3 separate regions of the Homo sapiens genome follow, and all the other regions are linked to region 2. Evidence: promoter capture Hi-C in human tissues and cell types (Jung and others, 2019). All regions are on one chromosome and are shown on one strand. The core of a region is centred on a gene start or on the middle of the fragment in contact, and the rest is flanking DNA. Distances in the headings are between cores, read along the strand shown. Region 1 has its middle 71 kb from the start of ADCYAP1R1. Region 2 holds the start of ADCYAP1R1 (ADCYAP receptor type I). Region 3 has its middle 18 kb from the start of AQP1.

Evidence for each region. The method cuts DNA at HindIII sites, captures the fragments that hold promoters and counts their contacts. A contact is called where the count stands out against the background at its distance.
Region 1: a fragment that was not itself captured here is called in contact with the fragment with the promoter of ADCYAP1R1 in region 2 in 2 of the 25 tissues and cell types used here (H1 embryonic stem cells and mesendoderm cells).
Region 3: a contact is called between a fragment that was not itself captured here and the fragment with the promoter of ADCYAP1R1 in region 2, in 4 of the 25 tissues and cell types used here (H1 embryonic stem cells, heart right ventricle, mesendoderm cells and 1 more).

The regions. Positions count from the first base shown.
Region 1 is chr7:31,121,736-31,125,772 of GRCh38, forward strand. No RefSeq gene overlaps it. Among named protein-coding and RNA genes, the nearest start is that of ADCYAP1R1, 71 kb to the left of the region's middle. The HindIII fragment of the contact is 4,582 bases long and covers 170-4,037 here.
Region 2 is chr7:31,050,738-31,054,789 of GRCh38, forward strand. ADCYAP1R1 (ADCYAP receptor type I) reads left to right here and starts at 1,571. Exons shown (of 16, transcript NM_001118.5): 1 at 1,571-1,941. The HindIII fragment of the contact is 8,235 bases long and covers 1-4,052 here.
Region 3 is chr7:30,928,001-30,931,977 of GRCh38, forward strand. No RefSeq gene overlaps it. Among named protein-coding and RNA genes, the nearest start is that of AQP1, 18 kb to the left of the region's middle. The HindIII fragment of the contact is 4,778 bases long and covers 1-3,977 here.

The DNA.
Region 1 (4,037 bases), core at 1,211-3,710, 72 kb after region 2:
TCCCCATCTTCAGCTTTGACTGGCCCCCCAATGACTGGCTAGAGCCCCATCCCTGATTGGAACCACACACTCAGCTCTGAGGAGAGGTTTGCCTGCCCTGTGGCCTATGGGAGACCCAGGCTGCACTGAGCTTCTCAGCAACACCAGGCCTGAGATTGGGCCCAGCCCATGGGGCAGTGTGAAAGGAAAAGAAATCTCAGGATCAAATCAGTAGGCCAAAGAGAAAAGTGAAGTTGGGAACTGGGGGCAAACCTGTCTCTCATTTTATTGCTAAATGAGATAGCTACAAAGATTAAAAAAAAAAATCCTCCCTCCCTCCCTCGCTCACAATTTGCCCACTGGGAAATTCCTTCTGGGACCCAGTGTCTCAACCCTGAAACAGTTCTGTTGAATTTCACCCCGACAAAGTACACTGATAGCTTCTCTTCATAGGTACGGGACAAAGAACAGGACTCAAAGCCATCCCTCGGCTCCCCTGAGACAAATGCATATCTGATTGCTTCCTCTGCCCTATGTTTATTTTATCTTAGGTAAAAGTGCAGATCCACTGAGCTAGATGAATTCATAAGTGACTGTTCCTCTACCCCTTCTGGCATAGAGAAAAGCTGATCAAACTCAAAAGAATGCGACTGTTTGCCTCTTATGAACTCACACCTTTTAAAAATGTCTTCCTCTTCCCCCAGTAGCTACCCTTTCCCCTCTAAGTATTGAAGTCCTCAAAATCATCTTTGGAGAAAGGCACAGACCTGTCTCTCGGGCATGAATCCTTAACCTTGACAAAATAAACTTCTAAATTGAGACCTGTTGCAGGCACCTTTTGGTTTACAGTAGCAAACCTGGAAGCACAGAAAGGCAGATCCCAAGCAGAGGAACACTTACAGCGGGCCGTGACCCAACCACAGTCACTTAGCCTGAGTGGCGGGTGAGGCAGCAGACAACAGAATATGTCTGGAACTCAGAGCCACTCCTCCCCCAGCCAAGCTGCCCCTCAACAAGTTCCCCATCTTGGCTTCTTAGGGCAAAATTCAGCGTCTGGGTGTGCACTGCCCTCTTCTGGTCATTTGGTTGGTAACACGAGCAGCCAAGAGCTCCCCTTTGGAAATAGCAGGAGCTCTTTCCAGTTCCGATTTTTCTGCCAACCAGGCTTGTTTCCACACAATGACTCATAAGTGAGATAATGAAGGGCAAGAACAAGTTAAAATATTTACTATAATTTACATTTGGAGGAAAAACTTTAGTCTTACATTGCCTGTAGAAAGAATGTGTCCTACAGAGGATTTTGCAGTGGTTTAACCCTTTATATTTTTTTGATAAAGCACACATTTACTTTTTTTTTTCTGATCATACAGAAAACTTATTTATTGAGACCACATAAATATAAGAAGCATGGCTTTGGTGTCATTTAGAAAGTGAACATGTGTCTAAGAATTTTCACACTAGATTGTAAACACTAACATAACTGATCTATCCATCTTTGGATTTTCATTGAGATATTTACTAAGTCCATCATCCGATGCTTTTGAGGACATGAAAGTTAAAGAGATAAGAATCTTGATCTCAAGAAGCTTTATTATTTTTAAGAATGTTAATAAAGACTCTAAAAAGAAGGCAAACAGGGAAATGCATCCTCCCCAAAGCTGCTAGTGCCAGGACTAGGCGCCTTCCCCAGTCCAGCGGCTGCAGGTTGGGTTGCTAAGAGCTTACCCTGCCCTCTTCTGCAGACAATTGCTGGCAGATTTCTGAGGGGTAAGACTACCCCCTTCACCTTTCTCATCCAGGGTGGCCGGTAGCCAGTGACTGAGGGATGTAGGGGTAACCGCCCAGCCGCCTTGCCTCTGGTTGGGACCACCTCTGTGGTTGACATCAGTGGCTCCTGCTGGATCAGCATGAGGCTGATTCTGCTGAGGTCTGGCTCCTTCCTCCACCCATCCCCGCTTCCTCACTGCCCTTCAGTGTCTCCCCATGCACTCCTTCTGTAAGATCCCTGCTCAAGGATCTCTACTTCAGGCTCTACTGCTACAGAATCTAGACAAAAACATGTGCCATCAACAAGGCCCAGAAAAGATAAGGTCCAGTTTCAGGATTAGGGAAAACTTGCCTTGAAGGTCAGGTTAGATCTAGGCATGGAAGAACTGTTCATCTAGCCTACTGACACTTATTGACTGAGTGCCTTCAATGAGCTGGGCACTCTTCCAGGCCTTGGGGCATAGCAGCAGATATGACAATCTTGTTATCGCTGGCACAATAATTCTAGCAGAGAGGGAAAGAAACAGGAAACAAATAATGGAGAATAAGATGAATTCAGTTAAGTTCTTTTTTTTTTTTTTTGGAGACGGGGTCTTACTCTGTCTCCCAGGCTGAAGTGCAGGGACTGGACCACAGCTCACTGCAGCCTTGACCTCCTGGGCTCAATTGATCCTCCCACCACCTCCTGGGTAGCTGGGATACAGGTGTGCACCACACCACACCTGGCTAATTTTTTTGTTTTTTTTTTTTTTTTTTTTTTAGAAATGGGGTTTCTCCATATTGCCTAGCCTGGTCTTGAACTCCTGGGCTCAAGCGATCCACCCACCTCAGCCTACCAAAGTGCTGGGATCACAGATGTGGCCACCGTACCTAGACAACTTATGTTCAATAGTGAAAATAAAATATGGCAACCAGATACTGTCACCAGATCCATTTTCCTACAATTCTCCAAAAATTTACCCTTGAGAAATTAGGTGATTCATTTATCTAGTTATAACAATTGGAACCTTTCTCCTGTCATAATTCTTCATCTCTGATGGTACTGGCTCAGTCAACGTCAACTTCCATTGAGTTCCTGCTGAGGATACTCACTTTAAATCATGGCATTGACACCAAACTTATTCTATAGTCTGTATTTGGGGTCTGGCACAGTGGCTCACACCTGTAATCTCAGCACTTTGGGAGGCCCCAGCAGGAGGAGCCCTTGAGCTCAGGAGTTTGAGACCAACTTGGGCAACATAGTGAGACTTCGTCTTTACTAAAAATAAAAAAAAAAATTAGACAGGGGTGGTGGTGCATGCCTGTGGTCCCAGCTACTTGGGAGGCTGAGGTGGGAGGATCACTTGAACCTGGGAGACGGAGGCTGCAGTGAGCTGAGATCGCACCACTGCACTCCAGCCTAAGTGACAGAGTAAGAGTCTGTCTCAAAAACAAAACAAAATGAAACAAAGCAAAGCAAAATAAAACAAAAAACAAAACCCAAAATAAACCAAAGTCTGTAGTTGGGATCTTGAAACATTCTCTGGGCTTTCCATGTAACATTACAAGCACTGAAGCATGTTGTTTGGGTTCTGGACTCACCGCAGAGAGGCAGCCTTCTAAAGCAGCGGTTCCCAATCTTTTTGGCATCAGGGACTGGTTTCATGGAAGACAATTTTTCCAGGGACTGGGTGGCAGGAGGATGGTTTTGGGATGAAACTGTTCCACCTCAGATCATCAGGCATTAGATTCTTGTAAGGAGAATGCACCTAGATCCCTCCCTGTGCAGTTTACAATAGGCTTGAGCTCCTGTGAGAATCAAATGCAACTGCTGATCTGACAAGAAGCGGAGCTCAGGCGGTAATGCTTGCTCATCTGCCACTCCCTCCTGCTGCGCAGCCCAGGTCCTCTGGTCTAAAGGAAGGCAGCCAATACCTGTGACTACCCAAGAGATGCCCCTGGGACAAAGGAACTGTGCCTTTGAGAGAGCCCAGGGTTGACGCATCCTGCATAGCTGCTCTCTTGATTCCATTCTCCATGCCAATGTCCTGCAGCCACACTGTCCTTTGATCCCATAAGCCTTCCTAAGGCCTACAGCCTCAGGAGAGAAAATGTCCTTTTTTTTTTGACCTATAAGCCTGGTGGCAGGCATGTATTTTATTCATCTTCCTATGCCTCATGGGCACAGCAAAATCCCATTACACAGGAGTTAACCAGTGAAGTTGGTGGAAATAAGTGAACTTCAGGGTCCTCCATAATGCCCACTTGCCCTTTTCCTTCTTAGGATCCCAATAGCCAGGCCAGAATCCTGT
Region 2 (4,052 bases), core at 321-2,820:
AAAGCGGCTCTCAGCTCTCAGGGGTTAGGGCAACAAGCTAAGAAGGGGTTAGCCAGGATTAAAGGGAGGTCCTGTCTGTGTCTGATTTTAGCACAGCACCTGGCCCTTTTCTCTCCATTATTTCTTCTCTCCTTTCTCTTCATTCTTTCTTGATATAGATAAGACTGATATTCTCCTCCACCAGGAAGCTCTCCTGGACTGAAAGGAACATGAACCAATCAGACTACCAGTGTGTTGTGTCAATGGGGGTCAGCGGTCATTGGTCAGTAAAGAGAAACATGGACCTAGGAACCTCCACGCGTCTTTCTGGGCCCTCAGATTGCTTCTTTCAAGTTTCCATATGGATTCCTCTCCATCCACAGGTCCTTTCCTCTTTGGTAGACTGGCGACCCCAAAGGAAGGCTCAAGGCTCTCCCTCCTCCTTCCCCCTTCTTGAGGCCTCCTGGACAAGGTGGCCATACCTAGAACTTGGACCCAAAGGGAAGCTGAGCGAGAATTTACTTGAATGGGCAAGAACAGAGCCTGGCTGCAGAACTGAGAGCTCTCAGAGACTGACGCCTGAGGCAGGGACCAAAAACCGAGAGCAGAGGCAGGCAGGAGCAGCTGTGGGATGGGGGCTGGGTGGGGTGGGCAGAGGGTGAGAACTTGCCTGGGAGTGGGTAACTAACTACTCTCAGTTAAGTTTGGGCTTCGCTGCCAACCCGCTAGGCCACCTTTACCTGTGTAGTTCTCCTTATTAAGCCATTTGCACTAGGAGGAGGTTGGACAGGACTGTAATAACAGTAGCAATAGTAATTTATTCAGCATCGGCGAATCAATGATACCAGGGAGAAACTACTATGGGGTGAGTGTACCATTTTTATTTAATGCTGCTGTGAAGAGACCTGGGGGCCGGTACTATTGTTCCCTTGTGCAGATGAAGAAGCTGAAGCTCAGAGAGGCTGAGCCACTTACCCAAGCTCACAGAGCTGTGGCACAGCAGGGACTGGAGCCAGGCAGTCTGATATTTTAAGTTGCCTCTGTCCTGTAAGCACCACCATCCCCTTCCTGGTCTTTCTCCGGGGGCGGGGGGGTCACATTGGAGGACATCCCGACAGGCACCCCAAAACTAGCTGACCCTCCCAGGCCTGGGCGGTAGGGGCAAAGAAGAGCCCAAGGAGGGTCTGAGACTTGCCTGGTAAGGAAGGCTTCTTGGAGGAGAGGGAAGACAGGCTCTGATACACAGGAAATCTTGAGGACCTAGGGAGAAGAAAGAAGGCTTTCTAGTCCTGGCTATGATGGAGAGACTGGAAAGAGGGTGGTGAGCCCAGGAGGCCCAGAGTCAGAGGAGACGGGGATGACAGGGGGCTGAGGGCTCCACCTCAGCGCCCCCGACCCCCGCCGCTGGGATTTCCCGCCGCAGCTCCTGCTCCAGTCTGTGCTGCGGGTGGGGTCGGGTTGAGCAGCCCGGCGCCCCCCACCGCGCCCCCCACCGCACCGCCCTCGATCTAACCCCGCCCCCGGGCGCTCATTGGCCTGCAGCACCCCCTCCCCAGCCTGTGAAGTGAGCAGGGGGAGGCGGTGGTCGGTCGCCTCCCTCCAGCGCCCAGCCTGGCTTCGCGGCGGAGGCGGCGCCTCTCCCGCAGGACGGAGCCAAGCTGGACTGCCGCGCCGCGCGGGGCGGGCAAAGGGGGCGCTGCGCTCGGCCCCGGGCAGGGAGTGACGGCGGCGGCGGCGGCTCCGGGCGAGCGTGGTCCCCGCGTGCGCACACGCACACGCCGCCGCGCAGGGACACACGGACCCCGGCCGCCAGCCGGCCACACAGGCGCGGAGACCCGGCTCGGCGCGCGCTCCTCGGCGCACACGCTCCCCATCCCCGCGCCGCGCGGGCCGCGGACTTGCAGGCTGCGCGTCCTTTGCGGAGTCTGCCCCGGCCCCACGGACAGGCCCCGCAGTGAGCAGGTAAGGGTCGCCCCGCCGCGGCTGCCCCTCCACGCCTCGGCCGTCTTCTCCCCCTCCAGAACCTTCGCCCAGCCGGGACCTCGGATCCCCTCCTCTGGCTTGGCGGTCTCCGCCAGCCGCGACCTCCACCGACGGAGAGCGGGCGAGGGCCGGCGCCAGGCAAGCCTCCCAGATCTGAAATGAAGCCCCCTCCCGCCGCTGCGCCCTTCCTGCGCGTCAGGCTGACACCCCCCAACCCAAGTGTCTGGCGCTGCGCTCGGGGCGGCCGATCGCCGCAGACTGCCGGGGTGGGGGTCGACCTAGCTATCTCACGCCCCTCCTGATGCGGAGAAGGGAGACCAGGGGGGCAGGCAAGCCATGCGGCCGGAGGGACCCGGAGGGACATGCCTCCCTACCCTTAGGTGGACGGACGCACCTACGCGGATCGGGAAGGCAGGGCTGGAGGGTCCCCCGGGGCTAGGTACCGCAATCCGCACGGGGTTTGAGGGGTGGGCAAGCAATGTGCTAGGTGGGGGTTGGGGTAGGGGCCAGTGTAGAATGCCCCTCTGTGGTGACACATCCGGGATTGTTCAAAAGAGTGTCGTCTTCGTTTCCCGTGGCGCGGAGGGGCTGGGGTTGGGGATGCCAGGGCTTCAGTGGTCCCCAGAAGAAACGCCCTGCGGGGTCTGTGGGGAAACGCACCGGCCTTCCCAGGTTGAAGTGGGCCCGCTGAGACCCCTGCCTGCCGCTTTAGAGGCAGAAGCTCCTGCGGCGGCTGCGGGGGGCGGAGGCCACATCCTCGGCGGGACCTTGGCAGGTTAGGGGGCTCAGAAGGGACAGGGGAGCCGATGGATGCAACTAGACCCTCAGGAGGGAACCCAGCCGGAAGCCGATTGCATTTCACGTGGAGCTGAGGAGGGGAGCCTCACCCCTGGATGGAGCTCAGCCCCTTTTTGGAAGATGGGGGTGGGGTGGTGGACACCTGCTAATTCTTCCGACCATTTTTATGTTTTTGAGTGCAGGTGCGTCAGACTCCCTTTATCTTCCCCAGCCTTACAATGTCCCGCAAAGCCCCCCTGGCCCTCTCCAAGACACAGCATTTGGCTCTTCCCATGAGCGGCCCTGGGGAGGAGTTGGGGGATGGGAAGGGGCTGGACGCAGCATGTGGAGGGCAACTTGCCCTGGGACTGCAGCTGGCCAGAGGCAGACAAGCATCCTGAAGGTCAAGCTAGAAGCTTTGAGTGGCGGTAGGATTCCCAAGCAGATGGAAAACTATGTTTGAGCCTTTGGGGGCAGGGGCAGCAGGCAGCACCCAGGTTTTCTCAGGAGACCCCAATTAAATGAGTTTGGTGCTGGGTACAAGTAGCACTGGTGGAGTCCCCAGTCCTAAGCTAAGTTCTGCTCCTCACTGACCTTGGGGAGGGCAGGCAGAGGCACCAGCTTGGACACAAGCCGAAATCTGAACATACAGATTGGAGGTGGAACACGCTGAGCAGGCCCTGGGCCAGCTCTTCCAACTGATCCATCAACAAGTGTGTGTGGGGTGACGATGGAGGCGGGCCTGATACTTTTCCTCTTTGGCCATGGGTGGTTCATGGGTGGTTGGGTGTCTGGGACAAGACCCCCAAAAGTCTGTTTGTCCCCATGTGTGGTGAGGGGAGGTGTCTGTGGGGAGCCTCTGAAAGGATCCCTCTCCTGCACTCTCGGGACTGATCTAAGCTAAGGGGTGCATTAAGTCCTGTTTTGTATAAGGTTCAGGCTGGCAGGGGATTGATTGGAGAAACACTTTGGGACCCATGGCTTTTCACATGGCCACCTCTCTCTGTTGTGCGTCAACTTTGGGACACTCCCTCAATTTGTGTCGAATAAATAAATACACACATGGGAGTTTATAGTATATGTGGCTGAGAGGCTAGGAAAGCTAAGGCCACAGGGTGGCTTTTCTCTTGGGGACAGGGCTTAAGCTGGAGTGTCCCAGGTTGCCGCCCTCCCAGGGACAAGCATTTCATTGACCTGGGGCTGGCACTGATTAAGTGGAGGACATCTTGTGCTGTCTGCCACAGGGCAGAACCAAGGTGTGCCAAGTGCAGAGCCGGAGCTTAGCTCGGTGCCAGGAAGGCCTTGCTTGCCTG
Region 3 (3,977 bases), core at 493-2,992, 120 kb before region 2:
GAGCCCAGCAGTGAATGTTCACTTCAGCCACACATATTTATGATCTCAAGCATCGGATCAACCTCTTCTGGGTTTCTAAACATTCAGGAGTCTGAGATCCTTACAGATCCATATTTTCTTTTTGACATTTCACTTTCTCCTCCAGAATCAAGGGGATTCATCTTTCCTGGCCCTGGAGGGGTGTTGAGAGGTTATAGGGAGAAGACTTGATTTCTGAAATACCGTGGACTAGGATTCATCCACTGGTCAGAGATGTGGTGAAGCTTCAGCGGGGTTAGTGGCCCATAGCCCTGGCCCTGCTCCCAGCACCGTCATCCATCTCAAAGCTCCTGTGGGCTCCGAGGGCCCAAATGGAAGGGTGTGGGTGGCTCAAGGCCACTTGACCACAAGGACCACGGCACTCTTGGGGGATGCGGTAGGTGCAAGGAGGGTTCTCTCTCTTTCGGGATTCTTAGGCGGTCCTCAGTATCCCTGGAACCCAAGCCAGGAGTCTGGAAAAGCACTGGAGGAACTGGTGCCGGGGCCCCCACCCATGGCGTGGCCAGGCCATGTGCTGGCCCATTGGGATTTTTCCATCGCTCCTGTAGGTCATGCCTTCACTGGTCAGAAGCCTGTCTAGGAGGGGACAGTGATTAATGTTTCATGGAGGAACTGCTGGGCATGACACCTTGTTTTCTTTAGGTTTAGAATACAATGAGGACGATGAGTGGAATTTGCTGCTGAGCTGGGGGCCAGGATGGGGCCATTCTTGGGGGCCCAAAGACCCAAAGGTAGTGATGTTTACTGTCCTTACTGCCAAAAAGGGGGCGATTGTGTAGGTAGGGAAGGCAGGTGAAGCCCGTGCTTACAGGGGTGTCTTCCCTAGCCCTCAAGAGCCCACTAGTCCCCACTGATACCTTGGGCCCTGGTGTGCAGAGAGACCTATGGCAAAGGGTATCCAGCAATTTTAATGAGCTCATCCTGCTTAGGTGATTCTGCTTCATTCCAATAAAGCCATGTTCTCTGCATGTAGGATTTTGCTTATTTTTCTGTTCTTTCCAGCGCATCAATCTGGAACTGGGTGAGAGCACAACTGATCTTCAGCCGTACGGGCTAGTACAGATTCACCTGTTTTTTTTTTTTTTTTTTTGAGATGAAGTCTCCCTCTGTTGCCCAGGCTGAAGTGCAGTGGTGCGATCTCAGCTCACTGCAACCTCTGCCTCCCGGGTTCAAGTGATTCTCCTGCCTCAGCCTCCCGAGTAGCTGGGATTACAGGCGTGTGCCACCACACTTGGCTAGTTTTTGTATTTTTAGTAGAGACGGGGTTTCATCATGTTGGCCAGGCTGTCTTAAACTCCTGACCTCAGGTGATCCATCCACTTCAGCCTCCCAAAGTGCTGGGATTACAGGCACGAGCCACCGTGCCCAGCCCACCTGCTCTTAAAATATTAAAATATTTTCATCTGTTTTGAGCTATCCAAGTAACATCCTCCCATCCCTGCTCTCTGGCCTTCCTAGCTTCCCGGCCTCTCTCTATTCTCCCCCAGACCTCCCCACAATCCAGCACTCAATGTGTTAAGGGGGCCCCTCGGACCCTGTCCAGTACTAAAGTTGTGGGATAGTTCTGATGGATTGGTGTCCCCACAATACCAGGATGGTATATGTTTTACACATCAACCCTGGGTGGGAAGCAGTAAGAGGTGTCTATCCAGCAAGGTCCAAGTTAGAAAAAAAGTGTGTGTATGTGCATGTGTGTGTGTGTCAGCAGATTGGGGCACATAGTCCAAGGCTGGAGTCCAAGGCTCCTGCCCTCTCTGGTCCTCAGTCTCCCCACCCGTAAGGAGAGTGGGTGAAGTCGTCCCTTCTCTGTGATGTCTGTGGTGTCCCAGTCCCTCCCTGACCTGGAGGTGGTGCTTTGCTTCATCTGGAATGCCCAGGGAGTGAGGCCAGGTGGGACAGTGACAGTGCATGTGTGGGGTGCAGCTGGGACCTGGGGGGCATCTTTCCCCCAGGATGCTCCCATTGTGCTCTGACGGCTCTGCTCCCTCTGTGCCTTGAGTTATGTGGAACTCAAGAGACGTGTTCTTCCTAACAGATGTCACCACCAGCTACTAGACTCAGTTTGCCTAGAGCCAGCATGCTCTCCAGGTAGAATATTGATTTGAGAAGGCTGGCCTGGCTTGTGTTCATTAAGGGTGAATTGGCATACATTTCTCAATAAGCTTAAGTAGGTAAGTAGATATATAATTTGTAGAAGAGTATTATCCTTTCTCCCTCTGAAATAGTAATATGAGGGAAGCTGATTCAACAAAAGAGTCCAATCCAAAAAAAGCAAATCAGAGAATCAGTACAGATGAAAAAGTTCTTAAGGATTGAAGCTTACAATTCACAGCAGTCTTGAACACTCTGAAAGGGGTCAAAGTGTCCCTGGTGCCTTATTTCATATGAGTGTTTTTTTTTTAAACTTAGCTTATATTTTTCATAATGCAACTTAAATAGATGTAATAACTTATGCCTTTAAGGAACTCAAATAGGAAACCAAAACAAATCAAACCAATGAAAGTAAGAAAATTTATTTTAATCATGTACGTGTAAAGTTGATGGCTGGGGGTGGTGCTTATGGCACACAGGGTGTTAATATATTTGGAATATCACTTTGGGTGTGTGTGTGTGTGTGTGTGTGTGTGTGTGTGCACGTGCATAGGAGGTTCAGTTCTTCGGAGAGTCATGTCAGGCCTGTCAGCAGGAATGCCCACGCTGCATCTGTGCACGTCTGCGAGCTGCCTGTGGGCCCAGCTGCAGGGTCTTCTGGACTGTGTCAGGCTACTGCCTGCCGGGGATGACAGGATTCATGTGGACTCCAAGGAAACCTTTAAATCTAGCTGTTGAACAATATGAGGGCATCTTATCCAGACCCAGTCGCAGAATAGAGGCACATTGCCGAGTTCTGGGCAGCTGATGTTGTTTTTTCCTGCTGGGAAGAGCAAGTTCCTGGGGGTCTGGTGGGAGGCTGGGCTCCCCTTCCTCACTTGCCAAACCAGGCTGTCAGGACCAATGCTCTCATCCATCTTCTTTGCCAGATCCAACGTCTAACCTTGGACTGATTATACACAAAATATTTTTTTGGGTCAGTGAACATTTTTTTTTCAATAAGAAATGTATAATAAATTCGAAATGTGATAAGAATGTCAGTAACCTTTGTATTCATTGATCACATTTCCTCAGCTGACATTCCTTGTGAAGTCAGGCACTGGGAGGTGAATTCCATATTTAAGACGGCATAGCGTGGCCAGAGCTAGTTTCATGTCCCAGTGAAATCATTGACAGAGACAGGTTGTGGAGGCTGGTCACAGGGGATGTGGCCCCATAGTTCCAACAGGCCACCTTGCGCGTGCCAATGCCAAGTGCATGCCAACGCCAAGCACGTGCCGCAGCTCTGAAATACACCTCAGGGTGCCCTTTCCTAGCGTTCTGTGCTTTCACCCTGTGTCTGGGTCTCAGCAGCGAGGAGATGGACTCAGGGATCTCCTCGCCCTCCCTATGCCTGTACCTTTTTCTGTCCTGCCTTGCTTTCCCCCCCTCTCTCCCATCTGTGTCTCTGCAGACCTAAAGAGGAGTCTCCATTCCAGGCCCTGCGGGAGGATTTCTGGGCCCTTGGGTGGGAGTGACTCCTCTGCTAAACTGTTCGTGAAGTTCCCTGGAACTGGTGAGCCGCTACCGCGCCTGGATTGTAGCTGAAGTTCCCTGGAACTGGTGAGCCGCTACCGCGCCTGGATTGTAGCTGACGGGCCTGTGGCAGCTTCCATCCGAGACGAACTCCAAGAATTTCCGCTGCTGGCAGTGACCTCCAGGGCTGGGAGGAACAGCTGCATCTGCCTCCAGGAATGTGAGGTCTGAGACGCCATGCCCAGGAATGCCTCCATGGGCTTGCAGTTTCGATTCCAGAAAATTCAGAGGGTTCCAGACCCCTGCCCCTTTCCTTCTTTCTCCCTAAGTGT